2 separate regions of the Homo sapiens genome follow, and region 1 is linked to region 2. The links are contacts of gene promoters, found by promoter capture Hi-C in blood cells and fetal thymus (Javierre and others, 2016). All regions are on one chromosome and are shown on one strand. Each heading gives the region's core, a stretch centred on a gene start or on the middle of the fragment in contact. The rest is flanking DNA. Distances are from core to core; before and after follow the strand shown.

The links. Contacts are between HindIII fragments. The CHiCAGO score rates a contact against its expected background, and 5 or more counts as called.
Region 1: a contact is called between a fragment that was not itself captured here and the fragment with the promoter of PIWIL1 in region 2, in 1 of 17 cell types (naive CD4 T cells). The highest score is 7.4, in naive CD4 T cells.

Annotation. Positions count from the first base shown.
Region 1 is chr12:130,099,934-130,105,246 of GRCh38, reverse strand. No RefSeq gene overlaps it. Among named protein-coding and RNA genes, the nearest start is that of LINC02419, 31 kb to the right of the region's middle. The HindIII fragment of the contact is 3,205 bases long and covers 649-3,853 here.
Region 2 is chr12:130,334,262-130,339,997 of GRCh38, reverse strand. It overlaps PIWIL1 (piwi like RNA-mediated gene silencing 1), which reads right to left and starts at 2,111. Exons shown (of 21, transcript NM_004764.5): 1 at 1,852-2,111. It overlaps LOC101927786 (a long non-coding RNA gene), which reads left to right and starts at 3,758. Exons shown (of 3, transcript XR_242978.5): 1 at 3,758-5,089. RefSeq lists an enhancer at 4,818-4,987. The HindIII fragment of the contact is 10,112 bases long and covers 1-5,736 here.

The sequences.
Region 1 (5,313 bases), core at 1,002-3,501, 230 kb after region 2:
GGTCTCAGAGTAATTTAATGCCCTATGAAAGTAAAATAAATTGTGTACAAATAATTCAATAAGCTCAGGGAAGTGGGGAAAAAAACATTAAGCATGTCACAGATGGCACCTCCAGGCAGTTTATCAAAGCAAGTTTCATAATTTAACAAAATCATCTTGGCATCACACACAAAGGCCTTCCTGTTTGATCCCTTAATAACACTGCTTAGCACTTTCTGGGGAACTGGCTTCCAGTGCCGGAGCTGTTTCCAAGCATTAGCTAATCAATCATCAAAAGATATTTTTCACGCAGGCAGGCAGAACTCGGAATCCTCACTCGACCACCACGGAAGTGGCCAAGGAAGCTAAGAGGCTTTCCCAAGGTCACCAGTGGGGCAAAGGTCCCGGCTGGGGTCCCAGCTAATGAGTTTCTGGTTTCTTCTGTGCCCCTGACAACGCCTCCTCCTGCCTGGCTCAACCACGTGGCCAGCACCCAGGCGTCCTGAGAGTGCTGGTCGGAGCTCCGGCTTTGAGCTTAGGGCTGAAATGGCCCTTCATCCGGGATAGCAACGTGCTTCTCACAACAGGGTTTCCGAGTCATTTTCCTCTCCCCTGCCCTGGATCTCAAAGGGGACTGGGTTTATTTTCTTTCCCGGAGAACGGAAAGCTTTGCTTTTGGCTAAGGGCCAGGGAATCCGACCCCTGAGTTTTGTCCAGCGACTTACATTTGTTTCTAGTTGTTTGTTTGTTTGGGGAACTATATGTTTAAATTATGGAATAATACGTGCATAGGTTGAAAGGGAAACCTCGCAGAAGGGTTTAAATGTAAAAGAAGAATGACAAATAAAATGAGTGGATGTTCCCGGGGGAGGAGGAGCTTAACTAACCCTTCCTACGCCCCCTCCCCCAGCACTTAGGGACTCACTTCTGCACAGCTCAGGGAAAGGGAAAAGTGGAGACACCTGGCAGATGCCACCTGGTCGCCAAGGTTTACACCTCGTGACTGCCCCATATGATGTGAAGACAAGGGCACGTTGCTTCCGGCGTTCTTCCCTCAAACCCAGTCTAATTGTGACGAAAAGCACCTGACAAACCCCACCTGAAGGATGTTCTATAACATGCCTGACAAACTTGAAAAACAAAGACTGAGAAGTGGCCACAGTCAGGAGGACCCGAAGGAGCCAGGATGACCCTCTGCAGCATGAGCTCCCGACGGGACCCTGGAACAGGAACAGGAGCCTAAGGGGGAACTGGGGACGTTGGAATGAGGTCTGAGGTTCAGACAGTAGTGAGTGCCAAGGCTGGTGTCTCAGCTTTGACAAATGGACATGGGAAGATGAGAGGATAACATTTGGGGAAATAAAACTGGCTAAAGGGTACACGGGAGTTCTCGGTATTAACTTTTTAACAAATTTAAACTAATAAACTTTATTTTTAAGAGTGGTTTTATAGGTTTACAGCCTCGGTACTATCTTTACAATTTTTCTGTAAATCTAAAACTATTGCAAATACATTTGTTTTAAATTTAAAGGTGAAAATTTTCCCCCACCCCTTCCCCTGCCCTATTTGACAGAGATAACTACTGGAACGATTTCTAGAATATTCTTCCAGAATTCTGTGATGCATATACACATCCTTTTTTCTTTTTAAAACCAAGATTAAGGCCGGGCATGGTGGCTCACACCTATAATCCCAGCACTTTGGGAGGCCGAGGTGGGCAGATCACGAGGTCAGGAGTTCGAAACCAGCCTGACCAACGTGGTGAAACCCCGTCTCTACTAAAAATACAAAAATTAGCCAGGCGTGGTGGCGCACACCTGTGATCCCAGCAACTTGGGAGGCTGAGGCAGGAGAATCACTTGGGAGGCTTAGGTTGCAGTGAGCCGAGATCGCATCACTGCACTCCAGCCTGGGTGACAGCGCAAGACTCCATCTCAAAAAACAAACAAACAAACAAACAAACAAGATTGAATCCTCCACTGTATGTTTTTGGTTTCTTGCCTTCTTCATTGAATCTATATCTGGGAGGTACTTTTGTGGAGAATATAGTTGTACTTCATTCTTTCTAAGTGATTTGAGGTCATCTATGGTTACTATGTTCCCATAATTTATTTAAACAGATCCTGATGGGTAGATCAGGCTGGCTTTGTTTACTTGTTGTTATAACAAAACAACGAATCAGGTGTATCACAGAAGTCAATAAACACAAGAAATTTCTTCACTCAAAATCAGCTTCACTCAACATTTTAAAAGTCTAGATAAAGAGGATACCAGGTGTGGTGGCTCATGCCTGTAATCCCAGCACTTTGGGAGGCCAAGGCAGGCAAATCACCTGAGGTCAGGAGTTCGAGACCAGCCTGGCCAACATAGTGAAACCCCATCTCTACTAAAAATACAAAAAAAATCAGCCAGGCGTGGTGGTGGGCGCCTGTGATCCCAACTGCTTGGGAGGCTGAGGCAGGAGAATCGCTTGAACCCAGGAGGCAGAGGTTGCAGTGAGCCGAGGTCGCGTCACTGCACTCCAGCCTGGGCGACAGAGGGAGACTCCGCCTCAAAGAGCAAAAATAAAAAGATGATACTGACAAACCATTTTTGATCTCTCGGATTGGTAAAGATTGAGAAGTTTGATTGTCACCAGTCTGGTGAAGACGTGGAGAAACAAACTCTCATTCCCACTGTTTGAAGGAGGGTCAATGGGTGAAAATGCTTTGGGAGTGATTTTGACAACATGCATACCTATTTAGAAGGTGCTTGGCCGGTGACCTTCTCTTTTTGAGAGTGGTGTTGGGTACGTAGGTGTGTTTACTTTGAGATTAATCTTTGGATGACACATTCATGACTTATAACTTCTCTGTATGTTATACTTTAACCAAAAGTTAAGAATAAAGGTGTCTAGATTTGAGCAGGCCCCCTGGCCTTCCTTTTTGAGAAATACATGGAAATAAAAGACTGGTGGTCTCCAGACATGGTCCTCTCCCTGGCTGAATTATATTCCTGGTACCCATATAAATTCTATTATGTATATATATAAATATTCTTCCAAAAATCTGTGACTCAATCTAATAATTTCTTAATACGATGTGATACTTATTAGGTTAAAAAAAATACCAAATCATACCTTTACCTAAATTTCCACAAGTAGGCTCACCATTATTAAATGGCATAACAATTGAGATTCTTTTTCTTCCTTCTCATTTGCAAAGACTTAAAAAAATTCCTAGAACTTAGAGAATTACAGATTAGGTTGGGAAAAAGAGAAACGTGATGTAAGTTAATGGAGTTATTGTACCCACCTGTTAACCGAACTTTTCTACGAGAAAACACAAGGTAAAATCAAAGGTGCCACAAGTTCTAAAACCAAACTAAAGATCTGGAAGAAGCCGGCACAGACCTCTGCAAGGGGCTTTCAGTGCGTGACCTGCTGCTAAGATGAGCAATTTGCCGCTTTAAGAACAAGAAGCAAATGACCCGTTTTCCCTCTAGGTACAACCTGGAGGTCATGCCTGGGAATTGCGGGAAAACATTTAGAGAGGCTCTCTGCTCCCCTAGGGGGTATCAGCAGGGCTGGATTGAAAATTGATACCCACGTGTATTTTTGTAAAACGCCTAGGCATTCCCTAGGACTGAATTGGTGGTCCTCAGTCCCAAAGTCCTAGCACTCAAGTGGAGAAAAAGACATTGACCTCCTCCCTGGAGGCGTTTCTCCCCTCCTCCCACCGCAGAAGCAAGCCCAACCTTTATTTGGCTGCTCTTTGATAAAGCAAAGTCTCCTCTGATTTCCCCATATTTTTCCAGCTTCTGCGTGTCACGCAAGCCTTTTACATTATTAATAAAAGTTTCAAATTCAGTTACTTTGCTCTTGAATATGAAAGCTTCTCTTTGGGGGACTTTGAAACACACTAGATGCAAACTTTCCATGAAGACACTTAGAGATAAAGCGTGATGATCATCCTCCTTTGAACGTCTGGAGATTTTAGAAAGCAAGACCGCCCATGGAATCCGGAACTGTATTTGCACTAAAAGAAAAGGCAGAGAGGACTCACGGAGCTCTCCATTTTCATGTGGCATAATTAAAAGTTTACTTTCTTCAGGCTGTTGCCATGGGAGCAGCATTTGGTTGCATGTCTAAAGATCATAAAGGCCGGTGGGGATAGATGGAGGCAGTTGAAAATGATTTGGGAAGGTGTTTTTAAGAATGTGTGGTTTGAGAGGGGCAGACTGGAGGTAGGGAGGAAGAGAACAGATGAATGCATCCAAATGGTTCCTTTGACTTGAATTATTTTTGCCTAGAGGCAAATTTTTAAAAGATCTTCATGTTCCGAGTAGAATTCTAGCCAGAGGTTGATGGCTCTGATTGCTCCTAAATGGAATTATTCTCATAGTCAACATTTCCTTAGAAAATGGACTTTGCTTCTTTGTCTATTGCAACAGCAGTGCCCAGACACAAATAGTTTTGAGGAAAGAGCTAGTTTATTATTCAGGCTGGCAAGATAGATTCCTGGGGAGCAAGGCTCAGTGAATAATCCAAAAGCAACATAGTCTAGGCTTAGCCTAGTTCCTGCCTTTTCTAGGAAATCTTTCTGAAGTGCTTCGGTTTGCACTGATGTCTTTATTTACCAAATGCCATAAGGACAGCTTCTACTTTGTCCTCTGGGCTGGGCTGAGGTCTCATCAGGCTGCTCTGGGACTTCAGATTTTGATGTTGTCTTTTAACGGTGCAGCTCTGGGAGTCGACATATCTCATCAGTCCTTTCTGGCCCTTAAGGCAAAGCTCCACAGACTACCTGGCTTAGGAGCCACAGACATTTATTCCTCACGGGTCTGGGGGATGAAAGTCTGAGATCAGGGAGCTGGCTAGGCTGGATTCTAGTGAGAGCTGTCTTCTGGGTTCTGGACTGTCAATTTCTCCTTGTGTCCTCACGTGGTGGAAGGGGCGAGGCAGCTCTCTGGGGTCCGTTTTATAAGGGCACTTGATTGCTTCATAGGCCTCCACCCTCATGAGATAATCACCTTCCCCAAACCCCCACCTCCTAGCACCTTCCCATTGGAGGTTAGAGTTTCACCATATGAATTTTGGAGGACACACACATTGCGTCTGGTTTGAATTCTGGTTCTATCACAACGAACTGAAAAGCCTGACCAAGACCACCTGTGGCTCAGCTTCCTTGGAGGCATAAGATCAGCTGCATTTCAGAGGCCCCAGTGAGGATGGCAGGAGAAAGTGGACTCAGTGCTTGGCTCAGGGCAGGCACACGGTAGGTGCTCAGGAATTAGGAATTCTCCTTCTCGTCAGCAGGTCCTTCCTGGTTCCCACTGCCTCTCACCCCCACAAGG
Region 2 (5,736 bases), core at 862-3,361:
TTGCACCCAGTCCGTCGCTTGACACCTTACAAACAACGGTGTGAAACAGTGATTAAAAAACAGTGACAAGCTGAACTCTCATCTCCAGCAGGAAATATTCCTAAAGCAGCACGTCAGTTCTCAAAGCCTGGTCCCTGACGGGCAGCATCTGGACTGGCTGGGAACAGAAATTACGGGGTGGGGAGCGGCTCTCAGCCCTCCCGAGTTAGAAGCCGACTGGAAGCAGCCCTCCAGCTGATTCTCATCATCTCCAGGGCCTGAAACCCACGGCGGCGCGCTGTGCTGGTCACTAAATACCTGGGGGGCTCAGCGCTCTACGTCCAGGTTTCCCAGCACAACTCTGGTTTTCAGCTTTATCTCCTTCCAGTTTCAAAACCACCTCAGTCTGGATATTGAATTCTTAAAGTCAGAAAGCAAGTGTGTGCTTCCAATAACCACACTCGCTGGAAATCACCTCTCCGATTCGCTACCAGCTCTGCCAAAGACGCTTCCACCTAACGTCCCTCCGGCGCTGAGCTCAGGACCACGCCGTGCACGTGGGAACCACCACCGCGCCACACGCCTAAAAACCGTTGAGCGGTACATTCTATGCGAGCGGGGTCTCTCTGGCCACAACTTAAAAACGAAAAGAAAAGCGCTCAGAGAACAGGCTGCGCAGGGGTGCAGCCGGCTTTGCCCTGGAGGCCGCCGGGGCTGAAGACGGCGAGAGCATCCATCCCAGGACGCCACCGCCCCGCCGCCCCTTTCCCTCCACAGGTGCCAAGGGCCGGGCCGCCAGCACCCGCGAGGACCCCCGGGCCTCGCAGAGCCCGGCCGTCGCGGTCGCCGCCTCACTTGGGGTCCTCCGGAGTTCCGTCCTCTTCCCAACGTCCGGCTCCCAAGGCTCCCGGGGGCGCAGCGCAGCGGCGGCGGACGCGGGAAGGGGCCCTCGCCCTCCGCAGAGATCGCGCCCCGCGGCCGCGTGGGTAGTGCGGGAGGTCCCGAAGGCCCTCCTGCAGAGCTCTCAGGTCCCCGCAGTCTCACGCACGGCCGCCAATGCGGAGACCTCCGCCCCCGCACCCCCGGCAACTCAGGCCTCAGCCTCTCACCCCGGCCCCTGCACCTGGGACCTCGCCCCCGCACCCCGGCCCCTGCACCCCCGCACCCCGGCCCTACAGCCCCGGCAAGTCGGGCCTCAGCGCTTCCCCCCGGCCCCGCACCCCCCACACCTGATACATCGCCCCCGCACCCCGGCCCCTGCACCCCAGGCTCCTGCATCTCCCAAACCTGGGACCTCGCCCCCGCACCCGGCTCCTGCATCCCCCGCACCTGGGACCTCGCCCCCGCACCCGGCTCCTGCATCTCCCACACCTGGGACCTCGCCCCCGCACCCGGCTCCTGCATCCCCCGCACCTGGGACCTCGCCCCCGCACCCGGCTCCTGCATCTCCCACACCTGGGACCTCGCCCCCGCACCCGGCTTCTGCATCTCCCGCACCTGGGACCTCGCCCCCGCACCCGGCTCCTGCATCTCCCACACCTGGGACCTCGCCCCCGCACCCGGCTCCTGCATCTCCCGCACCTGGGACCTCGCCCCCGCACCCGGCTCCTGCATCCCTTGCACCTGGGACCTCGCCCCCGCACCCGGCTCCTGCATCTCCCACACCTGGGACCTCGCCCCCGCACCCGGCTCCTGCATCTCCCGCACCTGGGACCTCGACCCCGCACCCGGCTCCTGCATCCCCCGCACCTGGGACCTCGCCCCCGCAACCCGGTCCCCGCACCTCGAGCCTCACCTCCACATCCCGGACCCCCAGCCGCCGCCCCCGCATCCCGGCCCCCGCACACCTAGCACCTCAGCCTGGCCCCGCACCTTGGACCGCTGCCCTCGCCCTAGTCCTGGTCCTTGCACCTCAGCCCGAGGCCAACAGCCCCAACGGCTCCCGCGGAGATCCCTCCGCGCCGCCGACCTCCCAGGACCTCCTTCGGCCCGCGCCCACCTCGCCTTCGGCGCTGGGTTCCCGAGAGAGCCAGGGACACGCGGGCAGCGAGCAACAGGCGCTCTTTTCCCGGGCGGATGAACACCGCCTCCCGGGCGCCGGCCTCGTGTCTGTACGCCATACGCCCAGTAACGGCGGAAAGCGGCGCGCGCCACGCCCTCATTGGCTGCCCCGCAAACGGCGGTTTCTGATGTGGCCGGGGCGGGACCAGAGGAGCCCCGCCCCACAGGCCCCGGCCCCGCCCCTCCAAGACCCCGTCTGGCCCCTCCCGGACACCCGGCACAGGCCCAACAAGCCAGGCCCGCCCCGCCCCACAGGCCCTGCCCCTGGCCCCCCAAGACACCGCCTGGCCCCGGACAGACACCCCGCACATGCCCTGGCCCCTCCCCATAGGCCCCGCCCCCATCCCGCCAAGACCCCGCCTGGCCCTGCCTAGACGCCACGCCCAGGCCCCCACAGGCCCCGCCCCCGCCCCACAGGCTCCGCCCCTGTCCCCCCAAGACCCCGCCTGGCCCCGCCCAGACACCCAACACGTGCCCTGCCCCCTCCCCACAGGCCCCGGCCAGCCCCACCCAGGCCCCGCCCTGTTCCTCTTCTGCTTCGCCCAGACCCCCGGCCTTCCCTGGCTTGACTCCTGCAGTTCCCCCAGTGCCAGCCCCCTGCAGGCGGACACGGGGTCGGGCCAGTTCCCTACTAGCTCGTGGAACTGGGCGGCGGCGCACGAAGTAGACCCTCCATAGACTTCGAAATGGTGCCCACGTGGGCACCGAGCGCCCTACTGTAGCAGTGGACTCGATCTTGGTCTGGCCTTTAACGTCGGAAGCTCTTTCACTCAGCACACAGAGATTTGAACTTTGACCCCAAAGAAAATAAAACTGCAATGCAAGTCTAAGGTGCCAGGAGGCCGTTACCTGGAAATTTAGCTTTCAATGACTTGTGCCTTGGGTGCATGCCAACGTGGACCGCAGGGGTTCTCAGCCTTCACCTGCGGGGGATCACCTGCAGGGCTGGTTAGGACACAGACCAGAGATTCCGGTCTGCAGGCTCCACAGGTGGGCCCCGCCGGCTGCATTTCCAAGGCATCGCAGGTGGTAGCGACCGGGTCTACGCCGAGCTAGGTGCCCTCCATAGGAGTTAATTTCCTCATGGAGGCAAAGTCAACAGCCACAAAACAACCGGAAATATTGTAAGATAGAACAGGTTTATTTGTCAAGGTGGAAGTGGGACTGAGGCTCACTAACTGCCTGACCTGTTATGTTCCATAACTATAAACATGATTGTAGGAGGTAGTAGAAATAGGGTCGCCTCTGCAGACAGGTTTTAAAACTGCATTTATACGGTAAACATAGTGCTTTTCCTTTTTTTTTTTTGTGAGACGGAGTCTCACTCTGTCGCCCAGGCTGGAGTGCAGTGGCAGGATCTTGGCTCACTGCAACCTCCGTCTCCCAGCCTCCTGAGTAGCTGCGACTACAGGCACCCACCACCATGCCCACATAATTTTGTGTTCTTTGTTTTGTTTTGAGACAGGGTCTGGCTCTGTCAGGCTGGAGTGCAATGGTGGGATCATGGCTCCCTGCAGCCTCGACCTCCTGGGCTCAGGTGATCCTCCTGCCTCAGCCTCCCCTGTAGCTGGTACTACAGGTGTGTGCCACCTGTAGTAATTTTTTTGTATTTCTTGTAGAAATACGAGAAATACACCCAGCTAATTTTTTTGTATTTCTTGTAGAAAGAGGGTTTCATCATGTTGCCCAGGCCGGTCTCAAACTTCTGGGCTCAAGTGATCCACCCATCTTGGCCTCCCAATGTGCAGGGATTACAGGCATAAGCCACAGAGCCCGGCCTACATATTGCTTATTATTCATACTTAAAAGCGCATGCCTGGGAATCGGGGGCTGGAGAGGGCTGAAGGCTCCCCAAGCCACCTTCCCAAATCCTACGTCTCATCTGTGCCATGAAAGGGGCAGGTTAGATGTCAGCGTTTCCCACACTAGCCTGAGTGTAAGCATCCACTGAGGGAACTTCCAAATAATACAGACTCCCAGATCACGCTGATTCCAGGAGGTCTGGGACGGGTGCAAGGAATTTCAAGAAGTAACATCAAGTTATTCTTATGCTCAGAGAAGGCTAATAAATTTGGGGCGAGGCCAAAAGGCGTTGGAAGCCAGTAGTTTGAAAGAAAAATAGCTTTCCAAAGGCTTTCGCTTTGTAAAAACTAAATGGTGCCTTTTGGAATACAATGTGAACATAACTTTTCCAAGGATTTAAGGTGTTGATGAGAAAGACATTCTGAGACCTGCCAGCAGATGGAGCCATAAAACAAGAAATAGATGTTTACAGCCTCAACTCGGGAGAAAAATACCGTGAATGCACCTTACACTATAGAAGTAACACTTTTCCCTCTGCTTTATTTTCTCTATATGCTAAACTCCTTACTTGCCTCTGCTAAAGAACATCGCTGGAGTGTCTTGGTGTGTGAAGTATGAAATAGTTTCTAAAGACATAAGTTGTGATATAGCAAGACAGAGGCAAAACCCCTCATTCTTCTGAGAGTGTAAACATCATGTCGCAAGAAGCTCACCTAAAATTTGAAAAGGAAAACTCAACGAAAATTTGAAAAGAAATTCAAGGAAAAAAAAATGTGACCTTTAAAATTTCCATGTTGACAGCACCACCAGGACCCCTTCTGGGATCCGTTGCTAGGTATAACTTCGTGCCTGACTCTGGAAGTTAAAAAATGAATAGTTACAGATTCTTTTTCCGGGAGCCGCCTCTAGAGGGGTGTACCCACCAGGGAAGGTGAGCAGAGTGCCACCAATCCTGTGGGTGCTCAGCGGGAGGTTGCTGAGGGATGCTTCGTGACTCAACGCTGCTGAAGCCCTGAAGGCTGATTTGGGTTTGCAGGGAACAGGAGGATCGGCATGGCGGAGCACGTTGGTCTGAGCACATGTGAGGTGTTTAGAAAACTGCAAGTCATCCAGCACGGGAGCAACGCCAGGCACAGGCAGGGGAGTCGTAGGGGATGATGCTGCAGAAGGGACAGACCGGGTTCTAGAAGTTGGCGAGCAAGGAAATGTGAGCATCTGGACTGCCGAACGCACCCTGTTAAGTGCTGTGAGTAAAACACACTCTGTCCTCCCATTGATGTGAATAAAACACACTCTGCCCTCCCGCTGATGGCCCAACAAGGGAAGCAGGGAGTGTGACAATTGGGAACGTGGATGCTGACCTGAAGGGCCAGTGGCTGCTTAGTCCTAGCCAGTTACCAGGAGAGAATGAGGGCTCAGATTTGCTGGGCCTCACATGATGGCTTTGGTTGTTGTTGTTGTTGTTTTTTTAATTGAGGTGAAATTCACATAACACTACATTAACTATTTTACAGTGAACAATTCCATGATATTTAATGCGTTCATAATGTTACGCAACCCCCCACCTCTAGTTCCAAAACATTTTCATCATCCCAAAATAAAACCGTCACTCTCCATCTCCCTCTTCCCCCCACTACCCTGGCAACCACGAATCTGCTTTCTGTCTCCTTTCCTGTTCATTTCATAGAAACGGGGTCATACACTAGGTGGCCGTTTGTGTCTGGCTTCTTTCACTCAGCGCCGTATTCTCAAGGCTCACCTACGTCGTAGCCCGTCAGAGCTTCCGTCCTCCTTACGGCTGGATCTTACTCTGCTGTTTGGACGGACCACATTTTGTTTATCCACTCATCCATTGGTGGACAGCTCAAACGTTTTTAAAGGGGAGCAGGAAAC